Regions from separate parts of the Homo sapiens genome. Here all the other regions are linked to region 2. Evidence: promoter capture Hi-C in 16 types of primary human blood cells and fetal thymus (Javierre and others, 2016). All regions are on one chromosome and are shown on one strand. Each heading gives the region's core, a stretch centred on a gene start or on the middle of the fragment in contact. The rest is flanking DNA. Distances are from core to core; before and after follow the strand shown. Region 1 has its middle 8.3 kb from the start of PCNX1. Region 2 holds the start of MED6 (mediator complex subunit 6). Region 3 has its middle 26 kb from the start of PCNX1.

The links. The method cuts DNA at HindIII sites, captures the fragments that hold promoters and counts their contacts. A CHiCAGO score of 5 or more calls a contact.
Region 1: a contact is called between a fragment that was not itself captured here and the fragment with the promoter of MED6 in region 2, in 1 of 17 cell types (naive CD4 T cells). The highest score is 5.9, in naive CD4 T cells.
Region 3: a contact is called between a fragment that was not itself captured here and the fragment with the promoter of MED6 in region 2, in 3 of 17 cell types (naive CD4 T cells, total CD8 T cells and total B cells). The highest score is 5.7, in naive CD4 T cells.

What each region holds. Positions count from the first base shown.
Region 1 is chr14:70,896,700-70,901,601 of GRCh38, forward strand. No RefSeq gene overlaps it. Among named protein-coding and RNA genes, the nearest start is that of PCNX1, 8.3 kb to the right of the region's middle. The HindIII fragment of the contact is 1,496 bases long and covers 1,163-2,658 here.
Region 2 is chr14:70,599,010-70,603,492 of GRCh38, forward strand. It overlaps MED6 (mediator complex subunit 6), which reads right to left and starts at 1,646. Exons shown (of 8, transcript NM_005466.4): 1 at 1,607-1,646. The coding sequence starts at 1,628. RefSeq lists an enhancer at 1,148-2,347. The HindIII fragment of the contact is 992 bases long and covers 1,501-2,492 here.
Region 3 is chr14:70,879,094-70,883,426 of GRCh38, forward strand. No RefSeq gene overlaps it. Among named protein-coding and RNA genes, the nearest start is that of PCNX1, 26 kb to the right of the region's middle. The HindIII fragment of the contact is 2,373 bases long and covers 963-3,335 here.

The DNA of each region.
Region 1 (4,902 bases), core at 661-3,160, 300 kb after region 2:
GGGCAAGTGTTGCAAAACTATTGGGTACTATGCTCACTACCTGGGTGACAGGCTCAATCATATACCAAACTGCAGTAACAGGAAATATATTCTTGTAACAAACCTGCACATGTACCCCCTGAATCTGAAATAAGAGTTAAAATTTAAAAAAAGAAAAGAAAAATGGGCAGAGAATATGAACAGGCAAGACCTGAGGAAAAAAAGTACACATGACTCCTAGGCACATGCAAGTGGCTCAGCCTCACTCACAATAGAGAAATTCAAATTAAAGCTACATGGAGACATCGTTTTTCAATTATCAAATTACCAAAGATCCAAAAATCTGACAACATGCTTTGTTGATGACGGTGTTCTGAAACAGGCATTCAACATCTATTCTTCCTCTCTGATTCCTGACACAGTCCAGTTTTATGTAGGCATTTATCCCTCCCAGCATATCCCCTAAGCCTCAGTTCACATTTGGGACTGACTGATCTAAGGGTAATTCCATTCCCCTGGGCAGTAATTGGTTCAGGAACCCAGGCTAGAATGAGTCAGTGTATGGCAGTGCCCTGAGGACAGGGATTAACTCAAGAATAGGGATGTAACCAAAAGTATGTTGGAAGTTCCTGGGAGGGAAATTTCCTTGCTCTTAGGTGAACTTCTAATTGATGGCATCGCTATGTGAAACCTGTAATGGCTATAGCCATTTTGCCTCCATGAGAGAAGCCACCCAAGGCCAAAGCCAACACACATAGGTCATCACAGGGCATTGCAGAGAGAGAGATCCAGAGCCACGAAATTCAGCTGCTCCTGAAGCCTGCTTGCCTCCTGGACTTCCAGTTGTATGAAGTGATCATTTTCCTTATTGTCGATGTGAGTTTGTATAGAATTTTCTGTTACTTGAAACTGCAGGCTAGTAGCCATGTAGCACAGAGAATGTTTCCAAGAATCTAAGTGAAACACATGGGTAAGTCAGAAGGAAAAAATGTCTCTGAAGTTTCTCAGACTTAGCAAACTGCCAAAGCACATGGCATGTGTTGATATAAAAACTTTCCAAATCAGGCTCTGAACTCCAATTAGAATATAGTACAGAAGCAGAGGGAGGAAGGGCTGGAGAGACCAGGACAAAAGTTATCACACATTTACACTGGTTGTGATTGGGCAGTGGGCCTATTAACAAAGCTTTCTCTCTCTTTCCTATATTTTCTCAGATAAAAATACCATGAATGTGTTACTTTTAGGATGAAAAACTAAATACAAAAGACCAATTGGATGTAAAATGGTGGAGAGGCTGGCCCAAGCAAACTCTCAATAAGTTGTCAGGTTTTCAAAATACAAGTCCAAAGGAAGAGTGGATAGATAAATAAATACATGCTCATAAAACCTCTGCATAAATTAGAGATTAGGAAATTTAAGAATTCCTAGTAAACTCGAGGCTATTAGGACTGAGGGATTTAAAACAAAACCCAAAAAGCAAATTTAGAATACAGTTGTCATGTTTAAAGCAGAGCTCATTTTTCTGTTCTTCAGACCATGATTTTTCACAATATTTTTGAGGTGTCATATTTCTAATCACCCCTCATAAGGAATTTGTTTTCATTTCCTAGTCATTCCACAGGCTGAGGGTCACTACATAATTCAGGTTGGGAGGCTGTCTCATCATCTTCTGGATCAAAAAGAATCCTGAAGTGGATGATGGGATTTTTCCCCCTTATTTATTTTCTGACAATCCTGAGAAGTAGAGGGAAGATGAGGATTCCATAAAGGAGACTCAAGTCTAGGGTAATTAGAGAGGAGGAAACCAGGAAGAAGGAGCAGTGACCTGGAAGCAAAGAGATTAAATAAGCCGGGGACTGAAAAATGCCTGCTGGATATGGCAACTAGGAAATCATTGATGATGTGGGCAGAAGCAGGGATGACAGCGAAGGTCAAGGCAGGTGAAAGACACTGTTTCACTCTTAAGAAAGTTGGCTGTGAGGGAGAGGAGGAAGTAGCCCTGAGGATAAGAGTGCCTGTTTCTGGGCTGGAGGAAAGTGCCAGCAGAAAGGAAAAGCTGGTGGTACCTGAGGGACCAAGGTTAACAAACCCAGTAGGGTTTAGGTGGTGGGGTGGAGAGCACAGGTGAAGCCATTTTCTTAGGCAGAACAACACCTTAAAAGGAAAAAAGAAAACAAAGGATGACTGTACATATGAATAAATTTATAAGTTGGGGGGGCAGGAAACTGAGGAATTACTGTCTGATACCCTCTATGTTTTCTGTGGGAGAGAGGGTGGTGTGGGTTGTATGAAAGACGTTGGTGAGATTTTAAAAGTCATTAATAAAGACACAAGAAGTGCTGAGTGAGAACTGGAGAACTGCCAGGAGGACTCCAGGTAACAGTTAGGGTCACAACCTGGAAAGTGCTAGCCTGCATGCTGGTGGCAGAGAAAGCAAATCCATCCAGTGCCATGGTTTTGGCCGATGGCAAGGTTGGGGAGAAAAGAGTGAAAAATCACTAGCTGTGGAATGATTGAATTGCAAAACTATGAGATCCACCATGGATGAGGAAATGAGGGAGGAGAAGAGGTGGTGGTGGTGATGGTAGGAAGTTCAGAGGAAAAAAAGAGGAAAGAAGTGTTTAAAAAGGAAAGGCCAAGGACAGTGCTTCTCAATACCAGTTTGCAGAAGAATAAAGAAGCTTGTTAAAAATGCACGTCTCCAGGCTCCATGTGAGAGATTTCAATTTAGCAAGTCTTGGGTACAAGATAGGAATCGGCTTTCTCCACCAGGTTATTACTTTTTAAAAATTGGTAACACAGGCCACGAGCAGTGGCTCAGGCCTGTAATCCCAGTACTTTGGGAGGCCAAGGTGGCCAGATCATTTGAGGTCAGGAGTTTGAGACCAGGCTGGCCAACATGGTGAAACCCTGATTCTACTAAAATTAGCTGGGTGTGGTGGTGCCTGCCTGTAACCCCAGCTACTCGAGAGGCTGAGGCACAAGAATGGCTTGAACCCAGGAGGCGGAGATTGAGGGGTCTGACACTGCACTCCAGCCTGGGTGACAGGGTGAGACTGTGTCTCAAAAGAAAAAAAAAAAAGGATAACATGTGCATAATGTAAAATTCATTAAGAGAAAAGATATACAATCAAAAGTAAGGTCTCTCACCCCTGTGGCAATTCCTGCTGCCATTTTCTCACATGTTCTGCTAGGGACATTCAGTACACAGATAATCACATAAAATACATTCTTTTCTCTTATGACAAGTGCTGTTATATACTTTTTTCCACATATATATATATATATATATATATATATTTTTTTTTTTTTTTTTTTTTTTTTGAGACAGGATCTCACTTTGTCACCCAGGCTTGGGTGCAGTGGCATGATCTCAGCTCACTGCAGTCTGGACCTCTTGGGCTCACATGATCCTTGCACCTCAGCCACCCAGGTAGCTGGGACTGCAGGCATGCACCATGACACCCAGCTAATTTTTTGTATTTTTTTTTTTTTGGTAGGGATGTGGTTTCACCATGTTGTCCAGGCTGGTCTTGAACTCCTGAGCTCAAGCGATCTGCCTGCCTCAGCCTCCCAGAGTGCTAGGATTACAGGCGTGAGCCACGGCACCCAGCCACTTCACCATATATTTTAAAGATCAATCCTTATTAGTTCATTAAAAGATACTTCAGTATTCTATTGGCTGCTTGGAATTCTATCTTTTAATATCAAAAGATAGAAAACAATAGATGTTTATACTAATTCTTTATTTCAGAGATACCCAACACTGAGGGAGTTTTTCAGTACCCTATGTATAAAGCACCATAACTTAGATTATATGTTTGTTTCTTTGTTTTTGGAGATATTGTCTCATTATGTTGCCTCGGCTGGTCTCACCTTCCTGGGCTCAAGTGATCATGCCGTCTCAACCTCCCAAGTAGCTGGAATATCAGCGTGCACCATGGCACCTGGCTCTAGGATTATGTTTTTTTTTTTTTTTTTTTTTGAGATGGAGTCTTGCTCTGTCACCCAGGCTGGAGTGCAGTGGCACGATCTCGGCTCACTGCAAGCTCCGCCTCCTGGGTTCATGCCATTCTCCTGCCTCAGTCTCCCGAGTAGCTGGGACTACAGGCATGTGCCACTATGCCCAGCTAATTTTTTGTATTTTTAATAGAGATGGGGTTTCACCGTGTTAGCCAGGATAGTCTCAATCTCCTGACCTCGTGATCCGCCCGTCTTGGCCTCCCAAAGTGCTGGGATTACAGGCGTGAGCCACCGCACCTGGCTGGGATTCTGTGTTTAATAGAAGATTTTGACTTGGGGTCATTCATGGACTATATACACATTGAGAAACACTTGTCATAGGACCTAAAAATATAATGAGTTTACAGGAAGGAAATGTTGAGAGAAACGGAGCAAGAAAACTGGAGGAACAGGGAGGTTTTACTTTGTGTCCTGATCTTTACTGATTTGAGAGATTTTATACTGATATGTATCACCCTCCTATGATGTATATACAAAACATATTATTTGTACATAATTAGAAAATACTTATGTATATTAACAGCCACTGAATCCTGGTGACAGTAGGTGAGGCAAAACAAAACAAAAACCCAGCTAAAAATCAAAAACCCCAAACAGACAAAAAAAAAAACTAATAAGAAATATGTTCCCATGTGCTGTCAAGGTTTCCATAAAGAAAGCAGTGAAAAATCTCCAAGGGAAAGATCTTTTTATGATGTCATTGGAATGTTATTTTTGTCATTAGAAAAAAGCTCCAGCCATCAAAATGAAATGCAATGAGTCTGCAACCTTGAATTCCCCAGGACTCTTCAATTCTGCTCGGATTCCTTGACTAGGGGCTAGGACTAATTTAGAAAGTAGCAGAAGGTGGATTAAAACACAGATTCATCTGATTCCAGCCCCCAGGCCCTTTCCATTATG
Region 2 (4,483 bases), core at 396-2,895:
AATAAATGAGCTTGTATTGGCTATTGGCTTTCATGATGCTTCATACCACTGACTGTACTGAACACCACTAGGTGTAAATCATGAACATCAAAATGCCTATACAATACTGGTTGAAAAACTTCAATCTCTCTTATACTGTCATTACCTCAGGCATCTTCAAAGAAGTCAGACCTAATTCAAGGTGACAGGCAGTTTTGAGCCAAGTGACTCAACCGAGAAAAATTATATAAAGGTAAAATGTACTTTGTGTGCTATAAAATAAAGGAGGAGACAGATGAAGTGCGTTAATAACCAAATAATTAGTATAGACCATTTAGATAGTTCATCATAACTGGATCATGCAATAACCAAATACACAACAGGCCAGGAAATAACATTTTCAGAAATGGCCTCCTAACTGGTTTTCCTAATTCTACCCTTGCCCTCCTACACTGTTCCCAGCAGCCAATGTAGTCCTAAAAAAAAGTCAGATCACATCATTCCTCTGATGGAAACCCCTCCAATGGCTCTGCGTTTTACTCAGAGGAAAAGCCAAAGACCTTATCATAGCTTTCAACACCTTTCTGACTTCATCTCCTTCCCACATCCTCTCTCACTACCCTCCAGCCACACTGACCTCCTTGCTGTTCCTTTAACACACCAAACACACTCTTATTTTAGAGTCTTTGCCATGATCCTAACAATCTGAATTATAAGTAAAACATTTTATAAACTAAATATTTCTCTTTTTTATTCTGTAGCAAGGCAACATGTTGACATAGCCCAAGCATTCTAACAGCATTCTAACCATCAGCAAGTGATGAAATAAATAATGAAAGACACGTATGTAAAATCATGATCCAGAAGTGCTGCAGATCGCCAGATAAGTATAAATGAGAATATTTGTAATAAATGTGTTAGACCCCAATCCAGTTAATATTAAAAAAAGGCATCTCAAACATCTCCCTTTAAAAATCAAGTACTATATACACAAAAACAACTCTACATGCTCCCCAAGATCAAGCAGCAGTTAAGGGGTGACATCTCCATACATTTATTCACTGACTGATTCAATATTTGAGTACTTCTGCAGTTCAGCTGTGAAAAAAATACGACCCCTGCCCATAATAATTGCTGGACGTTCGATGTAAAGTATTATCGACTCAAAAAAAAAGAAAATATCTGGGATTCATGCTCAGGGACCCGTGTGGCGCGGTCTAAAGAATTAGGCAGCCACCATGCCAAGTCCCAAGAGATGAATCAAATCAAGTTGGCTTATTACCCCATTCCCTTCTCTGCCTAAACGCCATTCCTTCACTCCAATAGAATAGCCCTAATGTTGTTGCAGAGATACGTGTGTAGAACAAAACTCCAGCTCTGAAAGCTCAAAACCCAGAGCTTCTTCCAACCCCTTCTCTCCGACGCTTCCAAGAGACGCTCCAAGAACTCAGAAAAAAAAAAAAACTCGTCAACGTTTCGCTAGATCACAGCCTTGGGTTGTCCACAAAAACCACTCAAAAAAGCTTGAGACTTCACACAAAGGAACCTAAACCTTGAAACCGCGAGCTATAACATCCCAAACTGGTCCACAGACAATCAAGAGACAAAATATAGCAATACAGTATACCTCGGATATCCACCGCCGCCATAATTCCGAGAGCGTTTACAGGTTCTCTTTCCGGCGCAAAGTAAACGTAAGCCTAGGCCGCCGGAAGCAGCGGGTTGAAGAGAGTGCGCATGGGTGAGGAGGGACGTAGAGCGGAAGAGGGGGCGGGGCGGGCAGGAGAGAGGCAGGGGGTGGAGGTGCGGGTGGGAGGGGAGGAGACGCGAGGGGGCGGAAAGCGGGAGAGGCGCGGGAGGCGGGAAACGTGGGGTGGGGTGGGGTGGGGTGGGGTAGGGGAATGGGAGGGGACGGGACGCAGAAAGATTGGTGCAGGGGAGCAGGGAAAGACTAGAAGAGGGATGGGCCAAAGAAGGAGAACGGGAGGGCGGATTACTGGGAAAAAAATTAGAAGACTTAGAGGACAGAAAGACCGAGTGGAGTCCCGCCCCACGCCCACCACTGATGGAAGAATTCTGCCTTGATCGTCTGTGATCGTCAAGAAAACAAATTCTGATGCTGTAGAGTTGTGCTTGGGAGTGTCTCTTAATTTTAAAAGCTCCCCGGGTGTATCCACTGAGCTATCAGATTTAGGAACGATGGTCATTTATATTTTTCTCCCTGCCTCAGGTATTGGGATGGGACAGGACTTAAGAATTTGGGAGTCATTGGCTTTTATGTGACTAAATCCATTAAAAATCTAAACCAATTAAAGAAGCCTCTGAGAAAAATTTCACAACACAGGAAATGCTTCTGAAGTGAAATATTAATAAGATTAAGAGAAAGGGAATACCCCTGGGTCCCAGAGTAATGAGCAAATGTCTGCATTCCAAGTAGTCTGGAGTAGGTAGCAAGGCTCCAAAGAGGGAATGATTCTGTGTACGGGGAAGCTACAGAAAGCCTCAGATTCTCAAGCTTCAGTGTGGCTCTGTAAAAGCAAAACGATACAGAAATATGCAAACAACACACAGATACTAGGAAGAGGATGCCAAAATCTGAAGGAGGGATGAGGGCGGGTGCCTACATCTTCTCCAAAACTTAGGTACTGTGAAGACTCCCCAAGAATTTAACCACAACCCAGGAGCAAGAGGGGAAGACCAGAAATTTAATTGGGATTTTCAACCTCATAGACAAGGAATTAAAAATTTGTTAACTCCGTAGAATAAAAGTACGTTGCCTGTACATTTCAGTTTGGGAATTTTCTGCCTGAGATGGTATGTATAAAATAGGTGTCCCAACAGAAGTATGTGCATGCACAGAGTAAAGTTTTGAGAGAGAATTTTTCAGGAGGGCCTGGTTGGGAGCCTAGTGGGAGGACATTGCAAAAAGGAAGAGTATCGTGTCCAATAAAAAGTGTGATCCATAAAGCTTTTTGTTTTGTTTTTCTAGTTTTTTGTTTCCTTGTGTTTTGATTAGGCTAGAAGGAGATTAGGAAGAATAGTGACAGAATGCAGATCTGTAGATAATAAAACATATGGTATGCATGGTAAATAAGACCTGGAAGCTCAACCTTTATTTTGTAGGCAATGGGAGAAATGTGATCAAGCTTCCATTTTAGAAAGATAACTTGAGGAAGACAGGGCAAGGTGGCTCACGCCTGTAATCCCAGCACTTTGGGAGGCCAAGATGGGAGGATTGCTTGAGCCCAGGAGCTGGAGACCAGCCTGGTCAAGATAGCGAGATCCCATCTCTATTTCTTTTATATTAATTGTTTCAGTTAATAAAGAAATATAAATTAAAAAGTGTGGTAACAAAAACAAGAGAAGACAAGATAGGGAGGAAGCCACTTTGGGTAGGACAGTCAGGACAGGCCTCTCTGAGGAAGTGATACCTGAGATGAGACCTGGAAGATGAAAGCAAATCACTCATGTGAAGAGCTGGGGCACAAGCATATCAGACAGAGGGGACCATGGACCCTACAGTGGGAAAGGGGTTGGTCTGAGAACCACAGAAAGGCCAGTGTAAGCCGGGTTGTATGAGTGAAGGATGAATGATGGGAAAAGAGACTGGGAATGAAGGCAGGGGCCAGATGATAGAGAGCCTGGTCAATAATTTATTTTTTATTCAAAGAACATAGGAAGCTATTAAAAGATTTGAATGAGTAGAATGCCACAAAGGTTCTGACTGGAAATTTGTTTATGGATGTCAAAAGTATTTGTTGTGCTTATTGAGCCACTTACTATGGACGAGGCACTGTGCTAAGCACTTTGACGAACTATCTAGTTGTTCCCTCAAAACAATTTTATGAGGCAGAAGCTATTACTCCCATTTTTAAATGAGGAGACGGACTGAGGCAGATGAGCTAGCTTTTCACCAAACTTATTATCTACTTGGGTATACAGCTAAGCTATATTTTCCACCACCCTTGCACCTGGATGGAGCTACATAGCCAGTTCTCATCAAGGGACTGTGAATGGAAGTGATAAGTGTTACCTCCAGGCCAAGACAGTGAAAAACACTGGTTCCATCTTCACTTTCTCTCTCTGTATTCACCAGCTAGATGCCAGAGAAACCTAAGGTCATGGATTGAAAGTGGTGGTGATGGGGAGTTGGGGGGCTGGGGTCTCTGAATGACTGACCACAGGTGCTGAGCCACCTTGCTGACCTAAACTGGATCCAAAGCAAGAAATAAGATTTTATTATGTTAAAAATACACACATGCACACAAAATTGCTATGTACTGTCTCCTCCATAAAATCAGTAATACTGGTGTAATCTATTTTCTGTAGGATATATTAAAATGTGTACCTGCCTCCACTATATACAGTATGACCTTTTGAGGCTTTAGGATTTGGAAACTTAGATAATTTAATATGTGAGAATGCAAGTAAAAGAGAAAAAACAAGATCTTCAGTATGGAAGTGGGAATGATTTCTGATTGGTTAAAGATGAAATGATGCTCAT
Region 3 (4,333 bases), core at 899-3,398, 280 kb after region 2:
TGGGCCCAGCAGGCACCTTGCTTGGTCGCTCCATCCTCCTGGGGGTCATTAGAAGCTCTACTTTGTGGGCATTTTTGGGGTTTTTTTGTTTGTTTATTTCTTGTTTTGAGACAGGGTCTCATTCTGTTGCCCAGGCTGGAGTGCAGTGGTGTAATCACGGCTCACTATAGCCTCGAACTCCTGGGCTCAGGTGATCCTCCCACCTCAGCCTCCCTAGTAGCTAGGACTACAGACACGTGCTCCCACACCCAGCTAATTTTCTACTTTGGATCCTGCTTCTGATGCCATTGGTTAAAAGAAAAGCTTTAGGCAAATTAAATTTAACACAGTTTAATTGAGTAAAGAAAGATTCTTGAATCCAACAGTCCCCAAAACACAAACAGACTCAGAGTGACTCCAGGGCTGCCACATTTATGCCACATTTATTAGGTAACATTTATGGACAGAAAAAGGAAATTGACCTGTAGAAAGCATAAGGGAGGTACAGAAACGGCTGGATTGGCTACAGCTGGGGCCTTTGCCTTATTTGAACCTGGTTTGAACAGTTGGCTGCCTGTGGTTAACTGAAATTTGGCTGCTGTGATTGGCTGAGACTCAGTTACCAGTCTGTTTATGCATCAAATTAGGTTACAGTTCACTGTGTATGGAGAAACCTTTAGGCCAGACTTAAAATATATACAGAGGCAGCTTTAGGCCAAACTTCATTTAACAGCATCTAGATAATTTTCTTCAAAAATTTTTGAATGATCCATGGCGTAGCCTCTTTCTTTTGTTCAATGTATCTATAGAGGGAAATGTTTTCACAACTCCATCATTATACTCTTAGTTTCCCCGAATAGTTTAACTGGTGGAAAGGGCAGCAATACTCAAAGCCATTAAACCAAGCAGAACTTGCACTATCAATTTCAGTCTGTTCTGAAGGTATTCATATATGGCTAAGGCTTTTTCTGCAAATGTAGAAAAGCTTACCCTGATATTAAGTTGCTAGGAAAATCATGTATGCATCAGTGTGTCTTCCGTGTTACATGGATATCACTCATATCAAAGTAACATGCATTGCTGCAAAAAGAATTGTAACTGTTATGTACTGAATTGTGTCCCCCCAAATTCATACATTGAAACCCAAGCCCACAATGCGATAGTATTTGGAGATGGGGCCTCTGGGAAGGAATTAGGTTTAGATGAGGTTACCAGATAGGTTCTTGTACGAGGCCATTCTTGTGTGGCCATAAAGAAATACATGAAGTTGTGGATAATTTATAAAGAAAAGAGGGGTATTTGGCTTATTTGGCTTACCATTCCGCAGGCTGTATAGGAAGCATGGAGCTGGCATTTGCTTCTGGTGAGGGCCTCAGGAAGTTAAAATCATGGCAGAAAGGAAGAGGAGCCGGCACATCACATGGTGGGAGTGGGAGCAAGAGAGAGGAGGACAGTGCCATACACTTTCACTTATTATTATTGTTATTATTATCATTTTGAGATGGAGTCTCGCTCTGTCACCCAGGCTGGAGTACAGTGGCGCGATCTCAGCTCACTGCAAGCTCTGCCTCCCCGGTTCAAGTGATTCTCCTGTCTCAGCCTCCTGAGTAGCTGGGACTACAGGCACCCGCCACCATCCCTGGCTAATTTTTGTATTTTTAGTAGAGACGGGGTTTCATCATATTGGCCAGGCTGGTCTTGAACTCCTGACCTTGTGATCTGCCTGCCTCGGCCTCCCAAAGTGCTGGGATTATAGGTGTGAGCCACCGCACCTAGCCTCCATCCACTTTTAAATGACCAGATATCACATGAACTCAGAGCAAGAGCTTACTTATCATCAAGGGGATGGTGCTAAGCCATTCATGAGGGATCCACCCCCATGATCCAATCACCTCCCACCAGGCCCCACATCCAACACTGAGAATCACATTTCAACAAGAGATTGGGATGGCACAAACATCCAAACCATATTAGTCCTCATAATGGGATTAGTACCCTTATGAGAGGAGATAGCAGACAGCTTGCAGTCTCTCTCTCTCTCTCTCTCTCTCTCTCTCCCTCTCTCTCTCTCTCTCTCTCTCTCTCTCTCTCTCCACCATGTGAGGACACAGAGGGAAGGCAGCCATCTACAAGCCAAGGAGAGAGTCCTTACAGGAACCTGACCGTGCTGGGACCTTGATACTCATACTTCCAGCCTCCAGACATGTCAGAAAATAAATTTTTGTTGTTTAAGCCACCCAATCCATAACATAGACTGGGTATTATGTCACCCAGTGCCATAACATGTTATGCTATGGCAGCCTAAGCTGACTTAGATAGTAACCATCATTATGTGACATAAAAGGAGCATAGTAAAGAGAGCACATAATTCTAGAAGGGGTGGAGGTTGGAGAGAAATTAAGTTGAGAAGAGGAGAACAAGATGTCAGGAAAGTCTTCCCATATGAGATACTTCTAGCAATTGAGTCTAGTCTAGAGGAACAGGCAGTTATTCTCTAAATGGTCTCTAAGAAGAGCTGGGGGCCTTAAAAACAAGGGACGTAGCAGTAATCTTTTTTATAGGCTGTGAATTGCTGTGGAACCTATAGCTTCAAACCTATTTGTTTTCCATGAACTCTATAATGATGTCATGGTCTATGCCTTCTTCATGTACAAACATCATACAGTTAACCCACCACCATGATAGCATGTACTTTCTGTTGTCGTGTTGTTTCCTAGTAAGGTGATTGATTTGCATTGCTTCAACCGGGCTCCTCTGATTGATCATTTTCTAAACAATGGATGCATTTACAGATGGTTGCCAGGTTCAGCAGAGGAGGCTGTAGCCATCAAATAGATAAAGTAGGCTCACCACATTCTGGAATTGAAACCGTGATCTTGGTTACATCAGAAGGTGCTCTAACCAATTGAACAAACCAGGCCTCGATGAAGCAACTGAGAGCTGGGGGATTCTTATGCAGAACAGAGCATTCATACTTCCGCTTCCATATGTACCACATATGTGTTCCTCTCAACTGGTTTTGTACATTTCCATTGCCTTAAATGTATTCACATAGCACTCTTTAAATACTCGAAGTATAATGAAGAAAAGAGAAGGAACTGAAATGGTTCCATTCCATTTCTCACTAGGAAGTTGATTCTGTGCACTCTATTTCTGACTATTTTCTATCAGCCTATCACTGTGGGATGTAGGAGGGAGGAACAGGACACAAAATGTGGCATAATTAAAAAAAGATGAAGAAGAAAATTAAAATCATTAACCATTAGTAATCATTTTTAATGTGCATCATTTTTAAAATTCGAGAATAACCCAAGGAGGTAGGCATAATGTTTAGACATGATTTACCAGTGAAAAGAAGCTTAGAGAAATGAAGTAACGGCTGGAAAGTCACAGCTAGAACTCAAAGTGAGAATTCCCACCCAAGAAATCTAACTCCAGATTCTACACTCCTAATCTCCGCTATGTTGCTTTCCTGAAATGAGGAAAGAATAAGAAAGGAGAAAATTAGTGACAGGAAAGAGAGAGCTGAATAAGAGGGGACAAAGAAAGGAGGAAGGAAATCAAGCAGTTTCTACACTCTGGAAAATAACGGAGCAGAATTAACAGAAGAGAACTACTTTCCTCAATGCTCATTCTACTGTTAAAAAAAAAATAAGCCAGGCAGTGCAGCACACGCCTATAATCCCAGTGACTAAGGAGGCTGATGTAGGAGGATTGCTTGAGCCCAGGAGTTTGAAGCTAACCTGGGCAACAGAGCAAGACCTTGTCTCTAAAAAAAATTTTTTTTAAGTAGCTGCATTGTCTTGTTTTTCTAACTTTGTACAGTGCTTAGAGTAACACTATCTAAACAGCATGTGTTCCATAAACCCTGTTGACTAACCGCTGGATTTGCACAAGAAACACCGGAAGACTCTTAGGCAAGAGATATATTGTAAGATCCGTGACAATGAGATCTCTTGGATGACATGTTTTTCATTGTTTACTGCGTGTCTAAAATGAGAAGGTCCTAAGAGCCAACCTTTCATTGGAGTGGCCCCCATAAAACTGTCTGCTGTGTAAGGGGTGTTGGAGTGACTCTCCATCACAGGTTCTACTGCAGCTCTAGGGTGGGTCCTGAGTGATGTGAACCCCACCCCCATCCCCGTTGCTAGTGAATGGGTCTGGGGTAGGCAGGCCAAGGCCAATTGGGACCAATGAGTCATAAAGAGTTTTCTAAACACTTCCGGAAAATATGCTTTCTTACCCTTAAGAAAGAGTCACAGGAAGTTAGTAGGAGGTGAAAAGGGAAGCAATTAACCCAGCAACTACTGGAAGCCTTCCAAAACCCAGGGATCTTTCCCCAGAATGAAGTCAG